7 separate regions of the Homo sapiens genome follow, and regions 1, 2, 3, 4, 6 and 7 are each linked to region 5. The links are contacts of gene promoters, found by promoter capture Hi-C in human tissues and cell types (Jung and others, 2019). All regions are on one chromosome and are shown on one strand. The core of a region is centred on a gene start or on the middle of the fragment in contact, and the rest is flanking DNA. Distances in the headings are between cores, read along the strand shown. Region 1 has its middle 92 kb from the start of VPREB1. Region 2 has its middle 41 kb from the start of VPREB1. Region 3 has its middle 120 kb from the start of VPREB1. Region 4 has its middle 61 kb from the start of VPREB1. Region 5 holds the start of RAB36 (RAB36, member RAS oncogene family). Region 6 has its middle 97 kb from the start of VPREB1. Region 7 has its middle 76 kb from the start of VPREB1.

The links. Contacts are between HindIII fragments. The study calls those that stand out against the background at their distance.
Region 1: a fragment that was not itself captured here is called in contact with the fragment with the promoter of RAB36 in region 5 in 1 of the 25 tissues and cell types used here (dorsolateral prefrontal cortex).
Region 2: a contact is called between a fragment that was not itself captured here and the fragment with the promoter of RAB36 in region 5, in 2 of the 25 tissues and cell types used here (H1 embryonic stem cells and mesenchymal stem cells).
Region 3: a fragment that was not itself captured here is called in contact with the fragment with the promoter of RAB36 in region 5 in 2 of the 25 tissues and cell types used here (IMR-90 fibroblasts and liver).
Region 4: a contact is called between a fragment that was not itself captured here and the fragment with the promoter of RAB36 in region 5, in 2 of the 25 tissues and cell types used here (bladder and hippocampus).
Region 6: a fragment that was not itself captured here is called in contact with the fragment with the promoter of RAB36 in region 5 in 2 of the 25 tissues and cell types used here (lymphoblastoid cells and spleen).
Region 7: a fragment that was not itself captured here is called in contact with the fragment with the promoter of RAB36 in region 5 in 2 of the 25 tissues and cell types used here (dorsolateral prefrontal cortex and thymus).

What each region holds. Positions count from the first base shown.
Region 1 is chr22:22,151,255-22,153,954 of GRCh38, reverse strand. It overlaps IGL. Among named protein-coding and RNA genes, the nearest start is that of VPREB1, 92 kb to the left of the region's middle. The HindIII fragment of the contact is 8,574 bases long and covers 1-2,700 here.
Region 2 is chr22:22,202,723-22,205,422 of GRCh38, reverse strand. It overlaps IGL and the pseudogene LOC100419915. Among named protein-coding and RNA genes, the nearest start is that of VPREB1, 41 kb to the left of the region's middle. The HindIII fragment of the contact is 6,097 bases long and covers 1-2,700 here.
Region 3 is chr22:22,368,099-22,370,798 of GRCh38, reverse strand. It overlaps IGL, the pseudogene ASH2LP2 and IGLV7-46. Among named protein-coding and RNA genes, the nearest start is that of VPREB1, 120 kb to the right of the region's middle. The HindIII fragment of the contact is 6,576 bases long and covers 1-2,700 here.
Region 4 is chr22:22,182,794-22,185,493 of GRCh38, reverse strand. It overlaps IGL, the pseudogene IGLVV-58 and the pseudogene BMP6P1. Among named protein-coding and RNA genes, the nearest start is that of VPREB1, 61 kb to the left of the region's middle. The HindIII fragment of the contact is 5,139 bases long and covers 1-2,700 here.
Region 5 is chr22:23,144,179-23,146,878 of GRCh38, reverse strand. RAB36 (RAB36, member RAS oncogene family) reads right to left here and starts at 1,402. Exons shown (of 11, transcript NM_004914.5): 1 at 1,328-1,402; 2 at 194-274. The coding sequence starts at 262. It also overlaps a transcript of RSPH14 not described here. RefSeq lists a silencer at 1,580-1,649. The HindIII fragment of the contact is 15,551 bases long and covers 1-2,700 here.
Region 6 is chr22:22,340,934-22,343,633 of GRCh38, reverse strand. It overlaps IGL, the pseudogene ASH2LP3 and IGLV9-49. Among named protein-coding and RNA genes, the nearest start is that of VPREB1, 97 kb to the right of the region's middle. The HindIII fragment of the contact is 3,556 bases long and covers 1-2,700 here.
Region 7 is chr22:22,319,862-22,322,561 of GRCh38, reverse strand. It overlaps IGL, the pseudogene BMS1P20 and IGLV1-51. Among named protein-coding and RNA genes, the nearest start is that of VPREB1, 76 kb to the right of the region's middle. The HindIII fragment of the contact is 8,428 bases long and covers 1-2,700 here.

The DNA of each region.
Region 1 (2,700 bases), core at 68-2,567, 990 kb after region 5:
GGCCAGTGAGAGGCTATTTTTGAGGGTGAAGCATCGATTTGTGGTCTAGACTTCATGTACTTGCTGCTCTCACCCCTCACAGCCTGCTCCAGCCTCCAGACCTTTGCATCTGCTGTTCCCTCTGCCTGGGATGCCCCCACCCCTCCCACCCCAGCTCGGCTCACTCCACCACTTCTTTACATAGGTTTTATTTCCATTTCTTTGTTTTCAAGTGGAAAGTCACAAAATTTATTACACTTATTATCTATTTATATTTTCCCTGTATAAATGTCTATTTCTTTCATTTGTTTTAGTTTGTTGTGGTGGTGGTTGTTGCCAATTTGCAAATGTTTTCTATGAATCCTAGATGATGCCTTTTCACAGGGTAACTATAACTTCCTGGTCTGTTGCCTCTGATAAATGTTCCACTAAATTTCTTCCTTTAGTGTTTATTAATATTTATTAGTCTAACATTTTTGTGTAATTTTTTTTTGAGAAGGAGTCTCGCTCTGTCACCCAGGCTGGAGTTCAGCGGTGTGATCTTGACTCATTGCAAGCTCCGCCTCCCAGGTTCACGCCATTCTCCTGCCTCGGCCTCCCGAGTAGCTGGGACTACAGGCACCCGCCACCACGCCCGGCTAATTTTTGTATTTTTAGTAGAGACAGGGTTTCTCCAAGTTGGCCAGACTGGTCTCGATCTCCTGACCTCATGATCCGCCCTCCTCAGCATCCCAAAGTGCTGGGATTACAGGCGTGAGCCACCGCGCCTGGCCTCCTTTCCACTTAAAGGTAAGTGGCCTACCCATCAAATCAGCATTACTCAATAGTTTATAATGGGCTCTCTCTGTCCTTTGATGAAAAAGGGAATTCAGCTCTGGACAAAAACCCAAGATAATGAGCTTGGCAACATAAAGCAACTTCCTTTTATGAAATCCACTCACAAAATAAATGTGGTATAAAAATTAAAGACAAAACAGTAAGACAGCATTGATTCATTGATCTCAGAACTAATTCCAACTATATAATATTAACAACACTCATGATCTGAAATTTAAGCTGCAGCTAGCATCATGTAACAACAAGTTATTTAATATCCTCAATTACAGTAATATTGAATTTTAACAATTGAAATTATATTTTCTAGAGCACTACAATGGGAATGTTTTTCAAAGTGTAATATTGGAAATTATCAGAAGGTGAAAATTTGTTCACATGAAGCACTGTTCATTAGTCATTCAAGAATATGTTTACAATAAATCAAAACAAGTCTCATGTTAGTTGCACCCAACTTAGAGTTCCAACCAATATGAAGTAAAATCTGGGTGAATTAGGTTACTATTATCCAAAACTCTCAACTGTGTTTTTTTCCTGTGCCCTTTATTCACGTATCTCAAGAAAATAAAAATAATCTAGGGCTAAAAGAATGAGACTGACTCTCAAAATGATGGCTCGCAATGACTAAAGATACAATAATTCAAAAAATATTAAGCATCTACTATGAACATTGCACTGCACTGGAACAGGAATTAAAAGAAATTAAAGAATGTGTAAGCAGAACCTCAGTTGTATGTAAGAAAATCCAATTCCCCCTGAGAAAGAGAAAGAGCTAGAGTCCTTTAAAAAACTAACGGCCTATTTTTCTGTGGCTAATGAGCTTTCTCTCCCCTCCATTCCCAGGCATTGTGAAGACCCTGATTCCCTAGCTGGGCAGCTGCAAAGTCACTAGACACATAAACAAAAGTCGCAAAACATGTTTTTCCTTGAAAAGTAAGAAATGATGTAACGCATTTCTCAATTAATTGAATAACTGTCTTTGTTTCTCACTTCTCTAACATGCTTCCCCCTGCACAGATCTCCTCCCACCCTACAAAATGCTTAAAAGGTAACTTAACTCTTTGTTCAGGGCTCAGTCCTTTGGATGTTAATCCGACTGGGCTGGTGCACCTAAATAATAAATATCCTCCTGAACCCCATCAGTCTCTCTGATTCCTTAAAAAATATCCTGCAACAGCACTAGACCTGTGAGAAGTAGATATGAATAACATATTTCTGTCTTTAAGTCATCTATCATCCACTGTAGCAGATACTTGATAGATATAGATACTACTAAATAGTATGATGTTATGCACACACACACACACACACACACATTAAATAACTATAATATTATTTTCAGTTGCTAAAGGAAAAGGAGGCATCGGCATCAACTGTTTTCTAGAAGACAGACTACTGGCTTGGGTTAAAGCAACTGAGAAGGCTTTTTGAAGGGAGTTGAATTTGATATAAATTTAAGAGGGCAGATATGTGAGCTGGGAATGGCACTGCAGATGTAGGGAACAGTATGTATACAAATAATAAGTTTTAATGTAGAGAACATATAGAAAAGGACAGATAGCAATGTTTTTTTGTAACAAAGAATAGTAATGAAAGATAATGCTGAAAACAAAGATTTGATTTAGGTGTGTCTTAAGTTTCTGCCCCGTGAGTTCTTTATTTTATGCTTCTCCTCCAGCAATGTGCGTACTTTATATTGTGTTGCACCCCCAATGACATCACAAGTAGAAGTGCTTTTAAATATTTCTTCTACCTTAATATGGAAATACTCCATAGTTTGTACTCATTAAGTATATAGTGGCTATTGCCAAATCTGTGAAGCTTACAGCAGTGCTTAAATATCACAGAATTAATAAGCAAAATTAATCTGTTAAGGCACATAAAATG
Region 2 (2,700 bases), core at 77-2,576, 940 kb after region 5:
CTGCAGACATTTGTACATTATAAAATAGGATGATCCTATTTTGCCTTTTAAAAGAATTTAAAAGGAGTATTAAGACGGTATCTTCTGCTATGAAATAACTGCCGAGGTTGGCTCCAGGCATTTATGCCATTAGCTTTTAAAACTCTTAGGGGACTCCAACATGCTATATTGCAGTAGGTTTAGCTTGTCACAGAGTCTTATACCATGTTAAGATTACCTTAAAACAAAATCACAAACATAAATAAAAACAATTGAGATCACCCAACATTCTGCTCTAACATCAATCTAGTGCAGATTAGTCACTCTGCCATCAGCAAGCATCAGACTTTCATTCAAGTAAGACCTGGTACAATCCGTTAAAGAAGAAGAAAAAAAAAAACTTCCCACAATCCTTTGTTAAGTATTTCTCTCTAAAAGATTGACCATTTCTAAACAAATAATGGTTCCAAAACAACAAATCTATTTGTATCAAAATGTAATGGGCCAATCATTTGGTAACAAGAATGCATCAATATAAGTTTCTAAGAATTGTAAAATTCAAATTTCAACAGCGTAACTACCAAATCACAAACTCTGTTCAAAATAATAAATTTTATATAAAACACTTCTCTTAATTTCTGCCTGAAAGCTGCTTGTCAAAAGTAATGTACTGTCATAGATGAAGGTACACCATTTTTTAATGTTGTGTAAAAATACACTTTTGTAGAAAATAGACTACCAGGAATGAACAGATTTACACTGTGAGAAATTAGCTTTCAAATTAAGCAGTGCTCACTTAAACAGAAAATTACAGATGCAGTAAAATCACCCAAAACTATCATGCAACATCATTTAGGCGCCCAGCAACTTTTAGTTCCGAGAAAACATTTTAAAAGATGATTATGGCGTTACACTCACAGAAAAGCTATTAGGAAGTGCCAGCTGCGGTGGCTCACGCCTGTAATCCCAGCGCTGTAGGAGGCCGAGGCGGGTGGATCACGAGGTCAGGAGATTGAGACCATCCTGGCTAACACCGTGAAACCCCGTCTCTACTAAAAATACAAAAAATTAGCCGGGCGTGGTGGTGGGCACCCGTGGTCCCAGCTACTCGGGAGGCTGAGGCAGGGGAATGGCGTGAACCCAGGAGGCGGAGCTTGCAGTGAGCCGAGGTCGCGCCACTGCACTCCAGCCTGGGCAACACTGCGAAACTCCATCTCAAAAAAAAAAAAAAAAAAAAAAAGGAAAGAAAAGCTGTTAGGAACTTTACAAGTGTTATTACCCTGATTAGAGTTCATGTCATTCTCCAAGCACAAGTTCTGTATGCAATTTTCCCAGGGTGTAAGGTTTTCAGACATTTCAAGGGTAGGCATTTTATTCAGAATATGTGGCCCCAGAGTGAGCAAGTTATTCATTGCGTTGCCTTTTGCTTTTGAGTCTGTTTGCACCAGTTGTCGTACTTGGTTAGGATAGGAGTGATCAAATACTGCATCCTAGTGCCCGTTACTGAGCCAACTGAGCCAAATACTAGGCTTTAGGCAATCCTCTGGGCCCAAATAATGAATCATGGTAGATAGACACTGTGGGCCTCTCCAGCCTCCCTCTAGTAGTTCAGTGCTATTCACATTCAGCATCTACCCTATGTACACAGGGTACCCAGCCACGCCCCGTTTTGGGCAGCCGCGATAATAAGCTTCCCCGTGTCACCCTCACCCAGGGAGCTAAAGTGGTGGAGACGATCGGGATGGGGCGCACCCTCCGCTCCGCAGCTCCTGGTGCAGGCTCGGGTCTAGCACTGGGTCTTGCTGACAGCACCGTAGAGGCCGTTGCCATGGGGAATGATGTGGAATCGGTGCTGATTCTTCTGCGTAAGCCCATGTCCTGCTTCTCGCCTGGGCCAGGTGCAAGGCTAGCTTCTCCTGTGATCCGACCTGGAGAGAACCACCTTGCTGGCGCCGCTCTGGGCAGCCTCGCTGCTGCTGGTCTGGTCGGGGAACCTCAGCCTCTGGGTGGGGCCTTAGTGCAGCGTCTTCACCTGCATCTTCGCCGTGTCTTCTCTCTCTCCCAGCCCCGCAGGCTCATCTCCGCCATGTGCTCTTCTCCTGGTGGACCCTGGCGAGGATCCGGGCTCCCCGGGGGTGATGCAGCCTCCATCCTGGGTGGCGGCCTGGGTTTGGCGCTGCTTGCTCAGGGGGAAGTTTCTATCAGGCCCCTCCCGAGCTGCCGCTAAGCCGCGGGCTCCATGCAGGGTAGTCGGGCGCAGCAGCTCCTCCAGGAGCCAGGTGGAGGAGCCCTGCCAAGGCAGGCGGGACTGGGCCATGCACCAGGAGCCTTGCAGCTCCCAGACCCATGCAGAGATCCACATGGATCATCTCTGTCAAGTTAAAGAGATAAAACAAAACTAAACTAACAAAACCAAAAAAAAAAAAAAAAAAAAAAGAGGTCGGGCACGGTGGTTCACGCCTGTAATCCCAGCACTTTGGGAGGCCGAGGACGGCGGATCCCGAAGTCAGGAGTTCCAGACCAGCCTGACCAACATGGTGAAACCCCGTCTCTACTAAAAAATACAAAAAATTTAGCCAGGCATGGTGGCGCACGCCTGTATCCCAGCTACTCAGGAGGCTGAGGCAGGAGAATCGTTTGAACCAGGGAGGCTTAGGTTGCAGTGAGCCCAGCTCACTGCACTGCACTCCAGCCTCGCTGACAGCAAGACTCTGCCTCAAA
Region 3 (2,700 bases), core at 135-2,634, 780 kb after region 5:
GTGTGGGAGGAGGCATAAAGATGTGTAAAACCAGAGAGAAAAAGCACAAGGTATGACCCCCATTGTGGAAATATTGAGAACAAAAATGAAAGAATGCATCCAAATGAAGAAATTGGATTGTTTCTGATGAGACAGCTTTGCAGTGAACTTGGTGGTTTTTAATATTTTTATTTTATATAATAGGCATGTATTGGTTTGAAAGTAAATCAATAAAGCAAATTTTAGTCATATACAAAAAAAGAGTTTCTTCTCTTTGCTCTTAGCTCAGAAAGCCTATACACTGAAGATGCTTCTTTCTGGAGGTATTGGTTTGAAAGTAACTCAATAAAACAAACTTCAGTAATATGCAAAAAAAGTTTCTTTGCTCTTAGCTCAGAAAGCCTATACACTGAAGATGCTTCTTTCTGGAGGAAATGCATTTTGACCCAGCCTTTATATGTGATCCTGCTGTTAGTGTTCCTTTTAGAATAGAAAACAATTAACTTTTCCTTTTTTTTTTTTGATCCAGTTACTCCCAAATCATTCTTACATTTCCTACACATCAAGACTTAAGTAGAAATAGGAATCAATTCAAACCCTTTCCTTCCCCTTTCTATGGCTGGTCCACATGTAGGCTATCTTGGGATCTGGCATGTCTGATCATGTGATCTCCACATCACAAGGGCCGAGGGAGGTTTATGTCTTGGTTCCTCTCATGGGTCTGTCACTGTGCCGAGCACCACTATAGGAGAGCAAGCAGTAATACTCAGCCTCATCCTCAGGCTGCGCACCCAAAAGGGTCAGGGCAGCTTTGCCCCCAAGGAGGGAGCCTGAGAACCGGGCAGGTGTCCAGGAGTGTTTGTTGCTTGTATCATAAATCAGTGTCCTGGGGGCTTGGCCAGGCTTCTGCTGGAACCAGTAGGGATAATGACCACTGGTGACAGCTCCAGTGCTGGAGCCACAGGTGAGAGTGACTGTCCCTCCTGGGGACACAGTCAGTGAGGGCTCCTGAGTCACCACAGCCTGGGAATTGGACCCTGAAACAAAAAAAACAGACATATATTAGGAATTAGAAAGGGAGAAAAAGGGATCCCTCCAAAGGCTGGTATTTGAAATCTCTCTTAACCTGGGCAGCAAGTGAGGAGGAACAGAAAGAGAGGAGTCCAGGCCATGGTGCTGATATTGGAAGGGACCCCTGGTGCCAGAGCTGGGGCTGGATTCTGATGGCTCTTTATCTCCTATTGAGCTCTCCGCACGGAGGGGGTGTGCTGTGTGCTGCTTTATGCAAATCTTTACTGCCTTTATCACCACCTGGGTCCACAGCCCTGAGAGCAGCTACACTGTGGGGGGCCAGCCCAGGGTGGCTGTGTGCTGTGGATTTGTCCTGTGGGAGGAAGCAGCTGCTCTAACATTTCCATGAGTCAGTGAGCATCTGTGCAGGGTTCATTAAGTTTGAACCTCTTGAGCTTCTTACAATCCAAGAGACCCAGACCACCCCCTGGTGGCTTTCCTGGACTGAGAATGTGTTGTCTTTCACTTCTTTAACAAATAACTATTGATTTGTCTTTGGACATTGCCACAATATTTCCCAGGCCAATTCATACCCATTACTTGTCTATTCTTTGCTCATTCCTGTTTGTATTACTTTCTCTTGCTGTTGCTGAAATCCTGCCCCTGTGACTATAATGCGATTTTAGTGCTACATGGTGTTCGTTGCTATCTGAACACCAGATAACAACGTTTGAATGACTAAATATTTAGTTTGAATGACTAAATAATTGTTTTAATGACCTACTGACTTTTTGAAACTATTTGCGTTGAGCCTCATATTGGATAAACAGCTCGTTTATATGAGACTTTTTAAAATAATTTTCTTTAGAAAATTTTTTAAAAGAAAATGACCAAAGGTTGAAGATTGAAGTTTTATTGTCAATTCAGTGGAAACTCAAGTGAGCCATGAGGATGGTCATCAAGGTCTACATAACAACCCCACTCTCACCCACCCCACCAATCAAAATTTTTCTGGACACCAAGCCTGGGTGAGCTTTGCTGGTTGGCAATGCTTCCTACATAGAATCACACATTGTTGCCGGCAGAATGCAGCGTTGTCTATTACTCCACTGGGAGAGGACAAATGGATGCTTGTGCTTGGAATTCTCCTGAACTCTGCCCATGTGTCTCTTTCCTTGAATTATTTTAATCTGTATTATTTCACTGTAGAAAAATCACATTAATGAATGTCACAGTTTTCAGTGAGTCATGTGAGTCCTTCTAGGGACTCATAAGAAGTGAAGGGCTGTTTGGGGTCCCTGAGCTGAAAATTAGCTTCAGAATTGAGAGTGCTCTTGGGAATCTTCAGACCTCCCAGTTTCCAATCTTGCATTATTCTTTTTTTTAACTTCAAAACAAATTTTATTTAGAAAGAGTTTTTCATGTTGTTGATGATGCAAGCAAACTTTTTTCACAATTACACTTCTAGAGATCTAGTAGTTTCAGAGATCTAAGTCTTCAAAGGTATGTTTTAAAATTAATAACAAAACCAAATCCACACCGACAAGAAATCACTTTTTGCTTGGTTTGGAAGGGACAGCCATTGATACCAGGTGTTCTCAGAAACGGGCTCACCACTTCCTTGGAAAACAGATAGCATGGAATCAGTGTCCACAGAAGGAAATGTCTTTAAATATGTTTGTTTTTGGGACAAGGTTATTTATTCCTGGA
Region 4 (2,700 bases), core at 6-2,505, 960 kb after region 5:
CACCATGCCCAGCTAGCTTTTTTGTATTTCCTGTAGAGACATGGTTTGGCCATGTTACCCAGGCTAGCCTCAAACTCCTGGGCTCAAGAGATCTGTCTGCCTTGGCCTCACAAAGTTCTGTGATTGCAGGTGTGAGGCACTGCACCCCGCCAATGTTCTCTCTGTAATGAGGCATTCTTTCCGTACTTTCCTTAACAATTGTTAACGTTGTTTTATTTATTTATTTGACCACATTTACAAAAGCTAATTTGAAGTTTTTATGTAGTAACCACCAAATGCATCTCTGGACATCATTTTGTCAACTTATTTTTAATGTTGTTTGTTTGTTTTTATGTTTTGCTTTGCTTTCCTTTTTAACCCTGTGTATGGACAGTACTTTGCTGTGTCCCTGCCTCAAAATTTCACTTTGCCAAATGGAGCTTCTCAGTCACACAATGTGACGATTCTGGAAATCAGATTCTTTCCTTAAAATATTTGTCATAATTGCTTCTGGTTTTGTTGTAGTTGTTATTGTTGATGATGATTTATTGTTTCACGGTACTGGAATAATTCTCTAAGTCTGTTTTCTTTGCTTGTGCAGCCACTGCAGTCTCTGCTCAATTATATCAGTCATTAGCTTATTATTGGACAGACATGTTCTTAAACGCCTCGAACAACACATTCCTCAGCATTTGCCGAATGCTCTGTGCAGGGGTTGGGTCATGACTGCAAAACCCCGCCACTTTACAACTCTATTTTAGCCTTCCTTGTTGATTTCAGCCAGTGTCGAAAATTAAGGACTTTCCTAATTTTTACCTGGCCATGCACATAACTCTGAGCATGAGAGTGATCTTCTGTCTTTCCAGGAATATGGCAGAGCTCATCAAAATCTTCTACAGATTCTGACACCCAGTTTTTTTCTCTCAAGGTTTTTGGTCAGCCTTTTATTGACCCCATCTTGTATCACTGACTCAGGACCTTAACAGATCTCACTGATTGTTTTGATAAATGTATTGAGGATGAAGCTGTTTAAACCAAGCGAGCTCTGAGACAATTCACATTTAGAAAAGTACAGAGCGTGAAGCTTTTCTGAGCTTTGGAAAGCTCAAATAATGACAGTCGCACGGGAATGGGGCTTTTGAGAAAATTCCAGATCTGGTATTTGGTTGCTTCAGTGAATGCTATTTTTCTAGTTTCCCTAGATCCAGGAGATTTGAGGCTGTTGGTTTTTAAGGCTACTGTGGAACTTGGGAGAGAGCAAAAGAAATAAAATCACCACAAAGCTTCAGATTCTTACAGAGATTCCACATTATTTTAATTGATTGATTGATTGATTCAGACAGGGTATTGCTTTATGACTCAGGCTGAAGTAGAGTGGCACAATCACAGCCCACTGCAGCCTCCACCTCCCAGACTCAAGTGATCCTCCACCTTCAGCCTCCCCAGTAGCTGCAACTACACCCACACACCACCACATATAGCTACTTTTTTAAAATGTTTTTTAGAGAAGAGGCCTCACTCTGTTGCCCAGTCTGATCACAAAATCCCAGGAGTGATAAAGCAATCGCTCTGCTTCAGCTCCCAATGTGTTGGGATTATAGGCATGAGCCACCATGTCTGGCTGTTATTACTATTTTTTATGATTCCCAGAATTTTGTAAGCTTTTGGTAATGTACAGAGTTCTGAAAAGTAGATTTATATCATTTTTACTGCTGTTCTCATTGCTTGTATGGTGAATCAGGTTTTCTGATGGCCTCATACCACCATTCCAGAAGTTTTTCTGAAGCTACATTTTTTTTTTGGAGAAAAAAGTTAAGAAATAAAATTCTGACATTTAGGATCAGGGCTGTCAGGATGACATTAATGATTATTTATATCCTTCTTCTTTGTTAGATTATTGCAAATCAGTTGTCATGTTCAATGTGGTGGAGGCAGTTTCTCCTCATTTTCTCCTAATCCCAAAACCCACGCACTGAACAACTGAGAAAACCTTTATAAACCACCAAAAATTTTAAATCTTTTTATTTCACTGTCTATAAATTTTCATTATTTCCATCGCTGTGTATCAACAGTGTGATTTCTAGCATTTTGTTAGAATTCAAAATTTTCTTAAGAAGTTATATCTTATGGGTGATTGTTAAAATGAAACTTGATGTGGCAGGGGTGTGCCATGCAGCAGAGTTCCAGTGTTTAAATCCACAGGGAAAAATGTCCTTGCAGTTCCCATGTGGTGACAATGTATCGACATGCAGGGGGTGACAGGATCTGCCTTAATATTGGCCACATTAATACAGACTTGTGTACTCCTTAGGAGCTTGGCCTAGCAAACTTGTTCCTAAGGAACCCAAAGCAAAAAATCTATCTAGCTATCTAGGTATCTGTCTATCTAGCATCTAGCTAGCTATCTGCCTATCTATCTGTCTAGCTAGCTAGCTAGCTAGCTATCTGCCTATCTGTCTAGCTAGCTATCTATCTAGCTAGCTATCTGCCTATCTATCTATCTATCTTTCTTGAGTAGTAAGGAAAACAGGCACTGTTTCTCAGGGCCACGTGGCAGCCTTCATAGTGGAGCAGAGAAAACAGTTTTTGTCCTGCTTCCTCATTCACTGGGGTCACTTTGCCTTACCCATATGTCACACCAATGCTATGATCTGCACCACAGATACAATCAGCTTCATCCTCAAACTGGATGTTGGAGATGGTGACCTACCGATCAGCCCC
Region 5 (2,700 bases), core at 153-2,652:
TGCCCAGTGTCACCATTAACTTGCGGTCCCACCTTGGGCAGTCAGTGACCAGTCTCCCAGCTCCTCAAGGTAAATCTGACAATGGACAGACCTCCTTGATTCACCTGCTTTACTTCTAGGCATGAGTGTAGAGTGGGGAGAGCTGATGTGGCTGCAGGGCCAGGAGAGCACTGCAGACGTAATGACTCTCTACCTTAGGGAAGCTGGCGATGACACGGTCGCGGCTCACAGGGGGCCCCAAAGGTGTCAGGGAGGACCTCATTCTTCCACAGTCCTGTGGACCCAACCAGGAGAAAGACAGTTAAGGAGCTGTGCAAATACCTGGGGATTCACCCATGAGTTTCCACCTAACTTTTCATCAGATCCAGGCTGGGTGCAGTGGCTCATGCCTGTAATCCCAGCACTTTGGGAGGCCAAGGTGGGAGGATCACTTGGGCCCAGGAGGTTGAGACCAGCCTGGGCAACAAAGTGAAACCTCAGTCTCTACAAAAAAAAACCAAAAAAATTAGCAGGGCATGGTGGCCTGTGCCTGCAGTCCCAGCTACTTGGGAGGAAGGTGGGAGGAATGCTTGAGCCTGGGAGGTCAAGGGTGCAGTGAACCGTGAAGGTGCCACTGCACTCCAGCCTGGGTGATAGAGTAAGACCTTGTCTCAAGAATTATAAATAAAACCAGATCCAGGCTTCCCTCTCTGTCAGGAATATGGGGCAGAGGCCATTTCTCTCAATCTGCATACAGCAGGCAGCATGGTATGGGGGAACCAGGCCTGCCCCACCCTGCCTGGGAGTCAGAAGACCTGGGTCTCCCCTTGACAGGTGTCTACCAAGGAGGAGCTCCCCTCTGAGCTTACCTTACTGGGCTGTGAGGCATGGCACAGCTCAGGCAGTGGAAGTAGAGTGGGGAGGGGTCTCCTGCTCCCAGTCTGCAAAGGACGAAGGCTCTAGGTGGGCCTGGGGGCCTTAACTTTCAGCCAACTAGGCCTTTTCCCTGAAAACCCTCACTTCACCAGGCCTCTGACTCCTCGAGCCTCCTCAACAGCCCCTCTGTCTCCTTTTTCTGTCCGGACTCCTCTCCAGGCTGGGCTGGGGTGGTCCTGGCGGAGTCCGGTTGTCTTCCCGCATCTGACCTGGCTCTCCTCCACAACCAGCGCGGGCCTGGCCCAGAGTTTGCGCTCCGGAAATGAGGACGCCCCGGGGCCGCAGGCCGCTTTCAAGTTATAGGGGCGGGAAGTGGGCGCGGACGCTGTGCCCTCGCGGCCCTGGCCTCGGGATGTGCCAGCACGGGGTTGGGTGACCGGGAGGGTCGGACAGAGTGGGCGAGCTGACTCACCAGCGATGGCTGTGAAAGCTGGGGCTCCGCGCGGCCTGGTCCGCCTGAGCCAGCGGCGGCGATCACCATGGCAACGAGAGCCACGCGGGACCTGCGGGCTACACGAATCGTCGACGTCGTGGGCGGGGTCTGCGTTGGACTGGCAGCGGCGCGTCCAAGCATCCAGCTTGCACCGGCGATCACCATAGCAACGAGAACCTGCCTGGAGTCTGGGCGGGGCTGGCAGCAGAGAGACTCCTGGACACCCTGGAGAGCCGGAGATCACCATGACAACAAGGGCGGTGCTGGATGGGTGGGCGGTGGGCGGGGCTATGGAGGCCCGGGGGCGGAGCCTGAGCCCTGGGTGGGGCTGACCGTGGAGAGATTCGCGCAGGTTCTGGTGATCAGCTCGGCTGGGAGAGGTTGGGCGGTTATGGCATAAGAGCTCCTGATGTGGTATTGATGTTTAATTGGAGTCAAGCACCCTGCAGCTGCAGAAGATAGACCTGCCTACCATCTACTGACCTTAGTCTGCATAGTTCTGAATCCAGTGCTGTCTGAATATCATATGCCTGGCTTCTAGAGCTCACGGTACAAAATTAATTTCCTTAATAAAAAGCTGACCTGAGTCAGTGATTTCCTCTGAACTAGTTTCGGTTTGGAAAGTTAGCTGTTTTGGGCTAGATGGCCTCTTGTGGCCCTTATAAAACCGTGGAACCAGCTTCGAAGTCCGGGGTTCAGTTTGAGAACCTACTTAATTCAGCTCCTTAACTTTTCTGCATCACAATATGGAAGCCTTGGTACACAGATCTAACTCAGTCATCTTCAATTCAAAGCTAAGTGTGCTGGAGGCTGGTGTTTGATGTCTTTTTTTTTTTTTTTTAAAGAGATGGAGTCTTGCTATGTTGTCCAGGCTGGACTCGAACTCCTAGGCTCAAGGAATCCTCCCGCCTCAGCCTCCCCAGTCCTTGGGACTACAGGCAAGGGCCACCACACCTGGCTCTGTTTAATGTCTTTTAGTGAGTTTCACTGCTAAGGTTGAGGCTTAGGGGGTGAACTTAGGTGAGTTGTTCCACCTTCCGCACCTCAGTTTACTCAACTATAAAATAAACGCAACTATCTATTTCAATGGATCACCTGAGATGGTGAAAGTGCTTTTATACTGTAAAGCTTGATTCAAGTCCATTAACTATTCATTTGTCCTACATGTACTGAAAGCTTCCTGGTATATGCCTAGCACTGGGGAGACAAGGAAAGAGAACGGACATGGTGTCCACCCTCAGGGAAATTGGAGTCCACTGCGGGAAGCAGAGAAGTAAATAGAGAATTAGGGGAAGGGAGTGTGCCAATGGGATTTAGGAGAAGGGAAGATTAAGCTGTGGGGTCACTTACTA
Region 6 (2,700 bases), core at 57-2,556, 800 kb after region 5:
TGAGCCCAAGACTGAGAAGCGATCAGGGATGCCATCCCCCTTGGATCCCACAATCCCACCAGTGCCCACTCGCATCACAAACCGGGGGCCCTTCCCTGGTCTCTGCTGGTACCAGTCCACTTTATAATTACTGTAGCCGCTGCTCAGGGTGCAGGTGAGTGTGACCGAGGCTCCCAGGGAGGCTGATGCAGAAGGTGGCTGAGTCAGCACAGGCTGGGAGAGGGACCCTGGAAACACAGACACCCATGAGGGCTCCTGTTGGTGGGTGGCTGATGAGCTGTTGGAGGAGGAAGAGCAGGGATGGGGAGATGGAGGCTGGGAGGTGGGGGTCCCTTTGGGGGCCCAGCCCACTGCCCACCCTGACCTGTGAGGAGACTGAGGAGGGTGAGGAGCAGAGGAGCCCAGGCCATGGTGGAGCTGCTGCAATGCTGGGTTCTTCAGTCTCTCAGCTGAGCCTGAGGCCCTAAAGCCTCTTATTCCCTCAGTGAAGAAGTGGGCAGGGACATCACATTCCATGCAAATCGGCTCCCTCCCAGGGCTGGTGATTAACAAGGGCAGGGCTCAGAGCAAGAGCTCAGGTCCCTTAGGATTCACAGAGTTTGCCTCCCCCTAGTGGCCAGGTGCTGCGTCACACTCAGGGATCAGACAAGGCCTTCTGGGCCCCTGCTTCACCTGGAGCCCATGTGGGTGTCCTGGAAATTTCTCAGGCTCCATTTCTAATGTCTCAGGAATCTCCACAGTGCTTCTTTCCCTCTGGGGTCCCACAGTGGGATGCAGTGACTAGATCAGTTAATCCTGGAGCCCGCCCAAGGCACCTGTTCCAACTTTCATTATAGGATGGGCGAGCCCTTCAACTGTTACTCCACACAAACTGAAGATGTGTCCACACTTGTAGATGACCACCTTCTCACTCTGTCCTCATCTCATTTTATGTTGTCCATTTTCTAATCTCCTCTTATAAGGATGCCGGTCCTTATGATCTCATTTCATCTTAATTACCCTCTGTAATGCTCTGTCTCCAAATACAGTAATATTGGGGGTTAAGGCTTCAATGTGAATTATGGAAAATTTAGTACATAATGACCAGTAATTACAGTACTTTTTTTAATTGATGAGAATGAGTTAGAATAGGATAAATATATAAGTGTGAAAAGGAAAATTTTATGAATATAACATCATATATATTTTGACATTTGAACAAGTGTATTTTTAATTGTCATAGAATACACACAACATAAAATTTGCCATTTAAATCACTTTTAACTGTAAAATTCAGTGGTGTTAAGTATATTCACAATGTGATAGAATTGCCTGGCATGGTGGCTTGCACCTGTAGTCCCAGCTACTCAGGAGTCTGAGGCAGGAGGCTTGCCTAGACCCAAGAGTTCAAGGATGCAGTGAGCTATCATTGTACCACTGCACTCCAGCCTGGGCAACAGAGCAAGTTACCACCTCTGAAAAAAAAGTGATACAGTCATCACCATTATGAATTTCCATAACTTTCTCATCATCCCAAGTGAAAAGTTTGTACCCTTTAAACGTTTATTTCCCCTCCCCACTCCCCTAACCCCTGGTAACCAGTGGAGAAGAGGGGGATTGGGAAACTGGGTGAGGGAGAACTCAGGGCTCTGAGACACAGTCCAGGAAGAAGCAGAGCAGAGACAGCACCCATGCTGGCTCTTGGGAGATGCTGCTTGGGCAGGTGAAAGCTTTCTGTGGCTGTGTTTCTATCCCTGCATGACCACGTTGATGCAGGCTGCCCGCTGTGGGATGTAGGATCAAGTCTCGTGGGTCCCATGGCAGTGTGTCCTGTGACTCCACCTTTCTCCCCAACAATGTGTCAGAGACAAACACTGACAGCCTTTTGTTGGGGCACTTGACACATAATTCACTACCTCTTCCTATGTGCATTCCCTCCAACAGTCATGTTACGTATCCTCCAGAGACTTCAGAAATGTCCTGCTTTCAGTCCAATTCTTTCATGATGGTCAAGGGGAATTGCATCAGTAGAACATGGATTCTGCTTTCCAATATGCTAAAGAGAGTTTGAATCTATGGTAAAAACAAATGAGATTGTACTATAATTTTGATATCTAATACTATTCATATTGATTGTGTGCCATTCTTTTCTGGGATCAGAAATAACTTTGGATCATGCGATCTCTATTTGGTGCCCTTTGAACATTTTCTTCATGTGTGGTAGCACTGTCTCATGATGCTGCAGGGCTTGGACTTTTGAATGAAGATGTTTGATCATTTGATACACACATGCACACACACACACACATACACACACACGAGAGAGAGACAGAAAGAGAGAGAGAGATCTGTGGACAGTTGCGCTAGCATAGGCTGGCCTAGGATACAAGTAAGGAGAGAAGGCAGGTAGAATAAGATGACCCTCAGTGTCCTTATGTTTGCCCCTGAAGGACTTTCTTGTCCAGTGATTGAATCCATTTCTAGCACCAAGACACCAGCCAGAGTGTGCTCTACCAGAGCATCCCAGCCCATGTCACTCATAGGGCAGTAAGTGAGATCCTTTGGAGGATACTTGAAGCACAGTCCAATGTTCATGGAAATTATGCAGTTGTTTTCTGGTAAGATTGCTGGAAAGTAAAGCCCCTTGAAAATATCTTTGTAAGCCATGCCTTGACTAACACCATTTTTATAAAATCTTATCTCACTGTGGGAAGTCTCTTT
Region 7 (2,700 bases), core at 84-2,583, 820 kb after region 5:
CTGGGCACCTGTGCAGTGAATGAGAAGGGTGAGGAGGAGAGGGGAGCAGGTCATGATGAAGATTGTCCCGAGTCCTGCCTTCTGCGCTCACAGCTGAAGCAGAGCTTCCCCAAGTCTCTCCCTGCCCCTCTTTATACTCTGAGAGAAGGAGGGTCCATCCATGCAAATCAGACCCTCCAGCTTTCTGATCCCACCCTGGGCCCTGGGTCAAGCTCCTCTGCCTGAGGATGTCAGAGAGTGCCAGGGGTGGGGCTGTGTGGTCCCAGGGGGTGGAGAGTTGACATCTGTGAGCCCTAAGCATAGGGCACCAAGCAGGACAGGTGGCGCTGGTCCTGCTCTCATCACACCCAGTCTTCTCAGGAATGGTGCGCAGGCGCCCCCTAGTGTCCATGGTGCGACATTGTACACCACCATTGTATGACAAGGTGACCAGAGCCTCTCAGAGACACCCCTGCCTCCCCGTTGTTCTGTCCATGGCCCCCTCCATCAGGGCCAGGCCAGGCAGCCCCCTGAGTCTTTTCTTCGTGACCTCAGGGCAGACTTCACATTCTACTGGGTTCCTCAGGGGTGAATCTGTCCATGTCTCCTTGGCTGTTCACTGTATAGGACTCAGGTGGTGACTACACAAAGTCCTGTTATGGCAGAATGAAATCGAGAGCACTGACCAGCCCCATGGACTCATTTCCTCACCTGTGGGGACACCGGGTCCTCTCTTGTCGTGTGGCTGCTCCCTGGTGGCCAGAGCTGTCCTTCCTCTGTGGATTCTGCAGTGCTGGGTCAATAGGGAGCTCTTCCCTCCAGGATGGCTGGGGCACATTCTCAGAGGGTTATGCTGGTAAATCTTTGTTCTGTCTCTTCTTTTCCAGACTTGCAGTCATAGTCATCTGGATCCTGTGACCAGGGATCTCACCTAGGAGTCTGTTCTCCATCACTGAATGCCAGTCTGCAGGAGATCCTGGCGAATGACTTTGCAGTGTTTTGCTAAAGAGCAAAACAAGCAAATATGCTCCGTATTTGAAGATGGAAGAATTAAAACTTTAGCTTGTTTAGACCACAGTCTGCACTCAGGTGAGCCTGACACATGGTAGCTTTTAGGATCAACCATTCCAACTAGGATGTTTAGGAAATAATACTGTTCAAAATCACTAATGAGTGTTTTCAGCATGTCCTAAAGATGAGAGAAATTATTCATCTTTGATGTGTAATGAAACCTAGAAGATGATACATTAAAAACAATAAACTGAAGAAAAAAGATAACCGTATTTATTAAAATGAAACAAATTATGTGTATGACTGCAAGAGTTCTGGCATGATGCATCTTGGACTCAACAAATCTTTGTTTGGGGAATCCCATGTGGTTGGAGAACAGCAGGATAGTTATTTACTCTGGTGAGTCTGTCACCAGGCAGTTGTAGTACCATGAGGTTTTACATGCACCATTTAAACAATGTACTAGGCCGGGCACTGTGGCTCACGCCTGTCATCCCAGCACTTTGGGAGGCTGAAGTGAGTGGATCACTTGAGGTTGGGAGTTTGAGACCAGCCAGGTCAACATGATGAAACCCCATCTTGGGCCGGGTGCAGTGGCTCACACCTGTAATCCCAGCACTTTGGGAGGCCAAGGCGGGTGGATCACGAGGTCAAGAGATCAAGACCATTCTGGCCAACATGTTGAAACCCCATCTCCACTAAAAAATACAAAAAATTAGCCGGGCATGGCGGCGGGTGCCTGTAGTCCCAGCTACTTGGGAGGCTGAGGCAGGAGAAGGGCATGAACCCAGAAGACAGAGCTTGCAGTGAGCCGAGATCATGCCACTGCACTCCAGCTTGGGCAACAGAGCGAGACTCCATCTCAAAAAAAAAAGAATGGTCTCTTTACGCAAGAATGATGGATGTGGATTTTGTGTTTAAGTCTTGAAAAAAGAGTCAGTGACCTCGAAATCTCTTGAAAGAATATGCAGAAAGCTTCCTGTGCACTCTCCTAGAGTCACCTAGTTCCTGAATTTTGAGAAGCAAGTGATAGGTCACTCGGGCCTTCAATGGGGAAAGTGATGTTCAGAACCATGTCACCTCAGGTGTACACTGCAGGTGACAACACAGTCTCAACCCAGCCATCCCCCATCCCACACCAGCTGCAGCAACATTCTCTACACTCTCACATAAAAAGGGTTATCTGGGGCCAGGCACGGTGGCTCATGCCTGTAATCCCAGCAGTTTGAGAGGCCAAGGTGGGCGGATCACAAGGTCAAGAGATCAAGACCAAACACGGTGAAACCCCGTTGCCACAAGGAAAAAAAAAAATTAGCCGGGCATGGTGGCACATGCCTGTAGTCCCAGCTACTAGGGAGGCTGAGGCAGGAGAATCACTTCAACCGGGAGGCAGAGGTTGCAGTGAGCCAAGATCGCGCCACTGCACTGCATCCTGGGCGACAGAGCGAGACTCCTGCTCAAAAAAAAAAAAAAAAAAAAGGGTTATCTGGGCTGGGCGCATTGGCTCACGCCAGTAATCCCAGCACTTCAGGAGGCCGAGGCGGGCAGATCACCGGAGATCAGGTGTTCGAGACCAGCCTGACCAACATGGAGAAACCCCATCTCTACTAAAAATACAAAAATTAGCCAGGCGTGGTGGCACATGCCTGTAATCCCAGCTACTCGGGAGGCTGAGGCAGGAGAATCGCTTGAACCCAGGAGGTGGAGGTT